Linked DNA regions of Homo sapiens: all the other regions are linked to region 1. Evidence: promoter capture Hi-C in 16 types of primary human blood cells and fetal thymus (Javierre and others, 2016). All regions are on one chromosome and are shown on one strand. The core of a region is centred on a gene start or on the middle of the fragment in contact, and the rest is flanking DNA. Distances in the headings are between cores, read along the strand shown.

What was found. Contacts are between HindIII fragments. The CHiCAGO score rates a contact against its expected background, and 5 or more counts as called.
Region 2: a fragment that was not itself captured here is called in contact with the fragment with the promoter of MARK4 in region 1 in 1 of 17 cell types (non-activated CD4 T cells); the score reaches 5.4 in non-activated CD4 T cells.
Region 3: a contact is called between a fragment that was not itself captured here and the fragment with the promoter of MARK4 in region 1, in 1 of 17 cell types (M0 macrophages). The highest score is 5.4, in M0 macrophages.

The regions. Positions count from the first base shown.
Region 1 is chr19:45,249,946-45,252,645 of GRCh38, reverse strand. It overlaps MARK4 (microtubule affinity regulating kinase 4), which reads right to left and starts at 1,375. Exons shown (of 17, transcript NM_001199867.2): 1 at 1,007-1,375. The coding sequence starts at 1,057. RefSeq lists an enhancer at 1-467 and silencers at 941-1,090, 1,321-1,700. The HindIII fragment of the contact is 10,557 bases long and covers 1-2,700 here.
Region 2 is chr19:45,041,078-45,043,777 of GRCh38, reverse strand. All of the region lies in intron 2 of CLASRP (CLK4 associating serine/arginine rich protein), which reads right to left. Among named protein-coding and RNA genes, the nearest start is that of CLASRP, 3.4 kb to the right of the region's middle. The HindIII fragment of the contact is 4,283 bases long and covers 1-2,700 here.
Region 3 is chr19:45,010,253-45,012,952 of GRCh38, reverse strand. It overlaps RELB (RELB proto-oncogene, NF-kB subunit), which reads right to left. Exons shown (of 12, transcript NM_006509.4): 4 at 677-1,017. Among named protein-coding and RNA genes, the nearest start is that of RELB, 10 kb to the right of the region's middle. RefSeq lists an enhancer at 819-1,320. The HindIII fragment of the contact is 8,461 bases long and covers 1-2,700 here.

The DNA.
Region 1 (2,700 bases), core at 126-2,625:
TGTAGCTGAGGAAGGCCTCTGAAGCTGAGGAGGGGGCTTCCTTGGAAGGCCAGACTCCCAGCAAGGAAGGGGGAGGCCCTGGGGCAGGAGAAAGGACGGTGGTTTGTGGGGAAGGGGTCTGAGTTTGGCCTAGCAGGGGGTCCAGAGGTTGGGGGTTGGGGAAGGGGCTGCCTGAAGCTGAGAAGTTGATAGAGGGCGGATGAGGCCTGGAGTCAGACTGGTCCAGGGCCTAGAAATACCAGCCTGGGTGAGGTGAGGGCCTAGAAGTTGGAGGCCAAGGCTTCCTGGGAGAGGAAGAGACCAGAAAGGGTCCAGGTGGCATCTGGGGGCCCCGGGGTGCTGGGATCTAGGGACAGGGCTGCTTGGAAGATGGGGACCAGGCCTGGGACGGGAGAGACCTTGAAGAAGCCAGAAAAGGGCCGGGGCCCAGGAGAGGTGGAAACCAGCTTCCTGCCAGGGGCTGCCCACAGGCGCCCTGGGTGCGTCCTGGAGGGGCAGAGGGCTGGGAATAAGAGGAGGGGGGCTCCTGGGGAGCCGGCACCCAGCCCCAGACAGGGAAGGCCGGAGCCAGAGGCAGGACTGGGCCAGGCCCTGCTGAGAGTGCCAGGGCCGGGCCTTGGGGGGTCAGGGGCCCTGCAAATCCGGGAGGGGGCGAGGTGTCGGACGCGGACGGCCTGGAGGGGAAACGGCTTAGCACAGGCAAGAGAAGGGAGGGGCTCCTGGAAGCAGGGGAAGGGGCTTCCTGGAGGGAACAGACCCGAGCGGAAGCGGTCTGCACGGGGACAAGAGAGGGGTCCCGAGAGAGGGGCGCCCCCAGGGGTCGGGCTGGGCTGGAAAAGGTGGGGAGGGTGGAGAGGCCTGGAAGTCCGGGAGGGGTCGAGAGGTGACGAGCCGGGTCGGGCCCAGGAAACGAGGGTAGGGGCTCGCGGGGCGAGGGGTACAACGGGGAGAAGGGTTTGGCGGCTGGACCCAGCCAGGGCTCCCCAAGGGGCCGGGCCCCACTCACCGTGTCCGAGTTCCGATCGTTGCCCGGGGCCAGCACCGTCCGCGAAGACATCTTCTCCGGGTCCCGGGGGGCAGGGGCGGCCGGGTGGGGGGGGCGGGGGTCCCAGGGTCCCCTCTCTTCCCCTCCCCCCCCGCCGGCCTGGGGACGCGAGCTCAAAAGCTGGGCGCCGAGAACGCCCGGGTCCGCGCGGCGGGAGAGGGGGCAGGGCGGGGGAGGGGAAGGGACGCCGAGGGTCCTAGTGGCCCCGTGCAGCGGGGACCCCGGGCGCCATGGGGGCGGCGGGCAGGCGGGCGGGCGGGGGCCGCGGAGGGGGCGCGGAGCCGGCCCAAGCGGCGGCGGAGGGAGGCGGTGGAGGGGCTGGGGAGGGAGGAAGGGACGTCAGGGGGAGGGGCGGGCAGGGCGGGGCGCCGGGACCCCGCCCCCCGCCGCCGGCCCTTAAAGGCGCAGGCCCGGGCTGGTCGGGGCGCCGGGGGCTCCGGGGGCTCCGGGGGCGGAGGCGGGTCTGGGCACGCCGGCGGGGAGCGTGTTCTCGCCCGAGACGAGAGGCGCACTGGAGAGGAGAGAAGGGGAGAGAGAGGCCGGGGCAGAGCGCCAGAGACGCAGAGAGAGAGATCGAGAGACGTAGAGATAGAGAGACACGAAGAGAGAGAGACGAGTTACAAAAGGGTGGAGAGGCGCAAGGAGATGAAGGAAGAGCCAGATGACAGAGAGAGAGAGACGCAGGGAGACAGAGACAGAGAGACCCAGAGACGCAGAGGGACAAAGACTGAGAGAGACCCCACACACACACAGGGAGAGACAAAGAGATACAGAGACGCAGAGATCTGTGAAGAGATAGAGATAAAGGGACTGAGCCAGAGAAGACCCCAGAGGCGCTGCCCACATTGTCCCTCCCCCTGGCCCATTCTCTCCCCAGTTGGCGGGGGGGAGCGGGGGAAGCTCTCCCCTCGGAGGCCTAAGGGTGGGGTGGGTGAAGGGGATGGTGTGCGGGGCTTGGCCACTGCTGAGGGCTCAGTGACCTCCCTAGTCAGGCTGCCTCCACTCAGCCACATAGATCCAGACCCGCAGGTTGGGGCTGCAGCATCCACTCCTTTGCACCCCAGCTGGGGTGTGGGGACCCTCTCTGTCCACCTGTATGACCCGGGGCAAGCACTTGCCCTTTCTGGGCTTCACTTTCCCAGTTTGTAAAGTGAAAGGAAGAATCCGTGTGTTGCTCACTGGCAGGTGCGAAGGAACCCTGTGCAGGTATTCGCCTGCAGGGCACAGCCACTCCCCATGCGGGCAGGCTGAGACCAGAGAGGACAAGAGCCTCTCGGAGGCCACACAGCGCTGTGGGGACCATCCATGCTCTGTGGACCAGGGTGGGATGAAAGAAAGACAGGCATTACATAGTCTTGGCCTGGGAGTCACATGGTTTTGGGAAGGGGTCTGTGCCCTGCCTTCTTCTATCTGAGGCTTATTTTCCTGAGCCTCAGTTTCCCCTTCTAAAACAGCAGTGTGCTGGATCTGGCTGGAGCGAGCTGATTGTTATGTCTCAGGAATTTTGGAACTGGTTGTTAAACACAGCCATTATTAAAAATTAAATTATGCAAACATACAATTAAATTACATTAAAGGTACAAGTAATACATACTCATCACGTCCTAGTTATCTTACTACATTTGCCATTATCTGTGATCTTGAGGTTACCTACG
Region 2 (2,700 bases), core at 144-2,643, 210 kb after region 1:
GGAGATGAGTTCTCCCTTTAGCCCCGTGGTTCCTTCCTGGGTGGCAGAGGTAAGCAAGGAGCTCTCAGAGCTTCCTCTTCTCTGCTGAGTGGAAGTAAGAGCGGTCTCTGTCTCACAGGTGACTGTGGGGATTCAAAAAAAATCCTGCATCTCTCACATGGCCTGGGGGTGCCTGCGAAGGATCAATTAAATGGTTAATTACTATTGTTAATATTGTTTTATTCATCTATTCTTTCAAACCATATTTGATGGACCCAACCCTAGGGTACAAACGTGACCCAAATATAATTAGTCCCCAGTCTCACAGAGCTGGGTATGTGCATATACGTATGAATGGAAAAAATTTTTTTTTTTTTTTTTTTTTTTGGGACGGAGTCTCGCTCTGTCGCCCAGGCTGGAGTGCAGTGGCACTATCTCGGCTCACTGCAAGCTCTGTCTCCCGGGTTCATGCCATTCTCCTGCCTCAGCCTCCCGAGTAGCTGGGAGTACAGGTGCCCACCACCACGCCCAGCTAATTTTTTGTATTTGTAGTAGAGACGGGACACACACACACACACACACACACACACACACACACACACAAAGTATTCCTTATCTGAAGTGCTTGGGATCAGAGGTGCTTCAGATTTTTTCAGATTTTGGAATATTTGTCTATTCATAATGAGATATCTTAGGGATGGCACCCAAGTCCAAAGACCAAATTCATTTATACTTTATAAGCACAGCCTGAAGGTAATTGTATACAATATTTTAAATAATTTTGTGCATGAAACAAAGTTTGTGTAAAGTACTTATATGTGAAACTTTCCACTTATAGTGGGGCATCATGTCAGTATGCAGAAAGTTTCAGATTTTGGAGCTAGCCGGGCGTGGTGGCTCACGCCTGTAATCCCAGCACTTTGGGAGGCCGAGGCAAGCAAATCACTTGAGGTCGGGAGTTCAAGACTAGCCTGACCAACATGGTGAAACCCTGTCTCTACCAAAAGTGCAAAAATTAGCCAGGCATAGTGGCACATGCCTGTAATTCCAGCTACTCAGGAGGTTGAGTGAGGCAGGAGAATAGCTTGAACCTGGGGGGTGGACGTTACAGTGAGCTGACATCATGCCACTGCACTCCAGCCTGGGCGACTAAGCAAGACTCTGCCTCAAAAAAAAAAAAAGATTTTGGAGCATTTCGGATTTTGAATTAGGGATGTTCAACCTGTGTATGCGTATGTGTGTGCGTGTGTGTATACATACATACACACACATATATATATATATATAAATTTTTTTTTTGAGATGGAGTCTCACTCTGTTGCCCAGGCTGGAGAGCAATGCAACCTATGCCTCCCGGGTTCAAGCAATTCTCCTGCCTCAGCCTCCCGAGTAGCTGGGATTACCATTTACTCCTGTATTACTGCCCCAGCCTCTTCCCTGGTCTGCTGGCCTCCAGTCCTGGCTCCTCCAGTCTGTCCTCCCTAGAAGAGTCCAGGAGGCCTTTCTAAAGCACAAAACTGACCCTGTCCCTTCATTGCTCAGAGCACCTCTATGGCTCCTAAGTGCCCTTGAGAGAAAGCCCAGGCTCCTCACCACCTCCAGCTAATTTCTGTATTTTTAGTAGAGACGAGGTTTCATCATGTTAGCCAGGCTGGTCTCAAACTCTTGACCTGAGGTGATCCACCTGCCTTGGCCCCCAAAATGCTGGGATTACAGGCGTGAGCCACCACACCAGGCCCATGTATGTGTATCTTAAGTGTGTTAAATTCCACAAAGGGGAAGGAAAGGGAGCTATGATTATGGCATTTTTAGAGGACACCTGACTGAGCTTGGGAAACAAGACTTCTCTGAGGACTGAGATCTGACAGATAAGCAGTAGTTAACCAGGTATGGGAAGAGCTCATACAAAGGTCCTGTGGCTGGGGAGCGCTTGGGTCAGTGGAGGAATAGCAAGGAGGCCAAAATGACTTGTGCAAAGGAACAAGGCAGAGTGTGGGGTGGTGTGAGTCTGGAGGAAGGGCAAAGGCCAGGCCATGCAGGACCCTAAAGGCCACAGTGAGGAGCCTGGGCTTTCTCTCAAGGGCACTTAGGAGGCATAGAGGTGCTCTGAGCAACGAAGGGACAGGGTCAGTTTTGTGCTTTAGAAAGGCCTCTTGGACTCTTCTAGGAAGGACAGACTGGAGGAGCCAGGACTGGAGGCCAGCAGACCAGGGAGGAGGCTGGGGCAGTAATACAGGAATAACTGGGAAAGGTCTATATAAATGTCATCTGACAGGAACACTGAACCTAGAAAACAGGTGCCATTTCAAGCTGGGATCCCAAGGATACACAGGAGTTAAATAGGTGAGGGGGGGTAATATAGGCCAAAGCCCTGTGGTGGCAGAAATAGAAGGCCAGTGGAGCTGTCCGAGTATGAAGCTGAGTGGTCAGACCACAAGGGTCTTTTAGGCCAGGGATAGTTTGGTCTTCCCCGCAAAAACAACTGAAGCATCAGACAGGAGAGGGAAGTGGTCAGGTTTCACTTAATATTCACTCCTTTTTTTTTGAGACAGTCTTTTTTTTTTTTTTTTTGAGACAGAGTCTCGCTGTCGCCCAGGCTGGAGTGCAATGGTGCTATCTCAGCTCACTGCAGGCTCCGCTCTGCCCCCCTCCCCGGTTCACACCATTCTCCTGCCTCAGCCTCCCGAGTAGCTGGGACTACAGGCACCCGCCACCTCACCT
Region 3 (2,700 bases), core at 123-2,622, 240 kb after region 1:
TCAGCCCTACCATGTAGCTAGGACTACAGCCATGTGCCACCACACCTGGCTAATTTTTGTATTTTTTGTAGAGATGGGGTTTTGCCGTCTTGCCCAGGCTCATCTAGAACTCCTGAGCTCGAGTGATCCGCTCGCCTCGACCTCCCAAAGTGCTAGAATTACAAGCCTGAGCCACCGCACCACGATCTGCCTTCTTTTTTTTTTTTCTTTTTTTTTGAGACAAGGTCTCACTCTGTTACCCAGACTGCTATGCAATGGTGCAATCTCAGCTCACAGCAGCCTGCACCTCCCTGGGCTCAGCTAATCCTCCCACCTCGGCCTCCTAAATAGCTGGGATTGTGCCACCACACTCGGCTAATTTGTGTACTTTTAGTACAGATGGGGTTTCACCATGTTGGCCAGGCTGGTCTCGAACTCCTGACATCAAGGGATCCGCCCGCCTCAGACTCCCAAAGTACTGGGATTACAGGCGCGAGTCACCGTGCCCAGCCAAATGTCCGACCCCTCCTTTTTTCTGAACCTTTTGGATTCCAGGCCAGGTGATAGTATAATTAATATCTGGTCCAACAATAACAACAACAGCCACCATCAAATAAACGTATAAATGCATGTGGATGGCTCCGGGGTGCAGGGGAAGCCCCAGTCCCACCCGCCCGGGGCCGCTCGCCGGGCCCACCTCGATGGCGGGCAGCGTCTTGCTGGCCTCGGTGCTGCTCTCCCCAAGGATGCTGCCGGCCGAGCGGCCCTCGCACTCGTAGCGGAAGCGCATGCCGCGCTGCTTGGGCTGCTCCGTGATGACCAGGTGCGGCTGCGGGCCCGGGCCCGGCGCTGGGGACACTAGTCGGCCCAGGGGGCAGCCCCAAGGCGGCGGCGTGGCTGGGGGCGCCACAGGGCCCAGGGTGACCGTGCTCAGGGACGCAGCCCCGCGAGACACCAGGCGTGGCAGCCCCTCGCCCGGGCCCGGCTGTCCCCCGTCCAGGCCGAAGCCGTTCTCCTTGATGTACTCGTCGATGATCTCTGCGGGAGAAGAAAAAACGGGTGGTGACGCCCATTCTTTAAAAAATTAAAAAAAAAAAAAAAGGCTTGATTACCCCCGAGACGTTTTCCATCCCATTTATCTCTCTCTCTCTCTCTCTCTCTCTCTCTCTCTCTCTCACACACACACACACACACACACACACACACACACACACACAGAGTCAGGGAGGCCAGGTGCGGTGGCTCACGCCTGTAATCCCAACACCTTGGGAGGCCAAGGTGGGTGAATCAATTGAGGTCAGGAGTTCGAGACCAGCCTGGCCAACATAGTGAAACCCCGTCTCTACAAAAATTAGCCCGAATGGTCTCCCACGTCTGTAATCCCAGCTACTCAGGAGGCTGAGGCAGGAGAACAGCTTGAACCCAGGAGGCGGACACTGCAGTAAGTCAAGATCGTGACACTGCACGCCAGCCTGGGCGACAGAGTGAGACTCCGTCTCTCAATAAATAATAGGCTGGGCGCGGTGGCTCATGCCTGTAATCCCAGCATTTCGGGAGGCCGAGGCGGGCGGATCATGAGGTCAGGAGATCGAGACCATCCTGGCTAACACAGTGAAACCCTGTCTCTACTAAAAATACAAAAAATTAGCCAGGCATGGTGGCACGTGCCTGTAGTCCCAGCAACTCAGGAGGCTGAGGCAGGAGAATCGCTTGAAACCGTCAGGCGGAGGTTGCAGTGAGCCGAGATTGCGTCACTGCACTCCATCCTGCGCAACAGAGCAAGACTCCATCTCAAAAAATAATAATAATAAATAAATAAATAGGCTGGGCATGGTGGCTCACGCCTGTAATCCCAGCACTTTGGGAGGCCGAGGCAGGCGGATCACCTGAGGTCAGGAGTTTGAGACCTGCCTGGCGAACATGGTGAAACCCCATCTCCACTAAAAATATAAAAATTGGGCATGGTGATGTGTGCCTGCAGTTCCAGCTACTCGGGAGGCAGAGGCAGGAGAATCACTTAAACCTGGGAGGTGGAGGTTGCAGTGAGCCAAGATCATGCCATTGCACTCCAGCCTGGGCAACAAGAGCGAAATTCCATCTCTAAATAAATAGATAAATAAATACAAAAATGAGCCAGGTATGTTGGTGCATGCCTGTACTCCCAGCTACTCGGGAGGCTGAGGCAGGAGAATTGCTTGAACCTGGGAGGTGGAGGTTGCAGTGAGCTGAGACAGCACCACTGCACTCCAGCCTGGGCGACAGAGCGAGACTCTGTCTCAAAAAATAACTTAAATAAATAAATAAGAAAGAACTTGCTCCTCCAACTGCCTGTTCCACACGGTCCCCCATTCAACCCATGCTGGCTGCTTCTCCTCCTGGTCTCAGCTCGTATGTTATCTCTTCAGAAAAGCCTAACCTAATGTGTCTTCTCCAGGCCATCTCTCCCTCGTCCTGTTTATTTCTTTCACAGCTCTCAGCCCAGGCTAACATTATCTTGCTCATCTGTTCATTTTCCTCTGTCTCCCACACCGGGCTATCAGCTCTGCGAGGGCAGGGACTTGGTTTTGTTCATGGCTAAATCCCCAGGGCCTAAAACAGTGTCTGTCTGTACTCACTAGGGGATTAATAACATTATTTTATTTTAATTGGTTTTCTTTTTGAGACACGGTCTTGCTCTGCCGCCCAGGCTGCAGTGCAGTGGTGCAATCATAGCTCACTGCA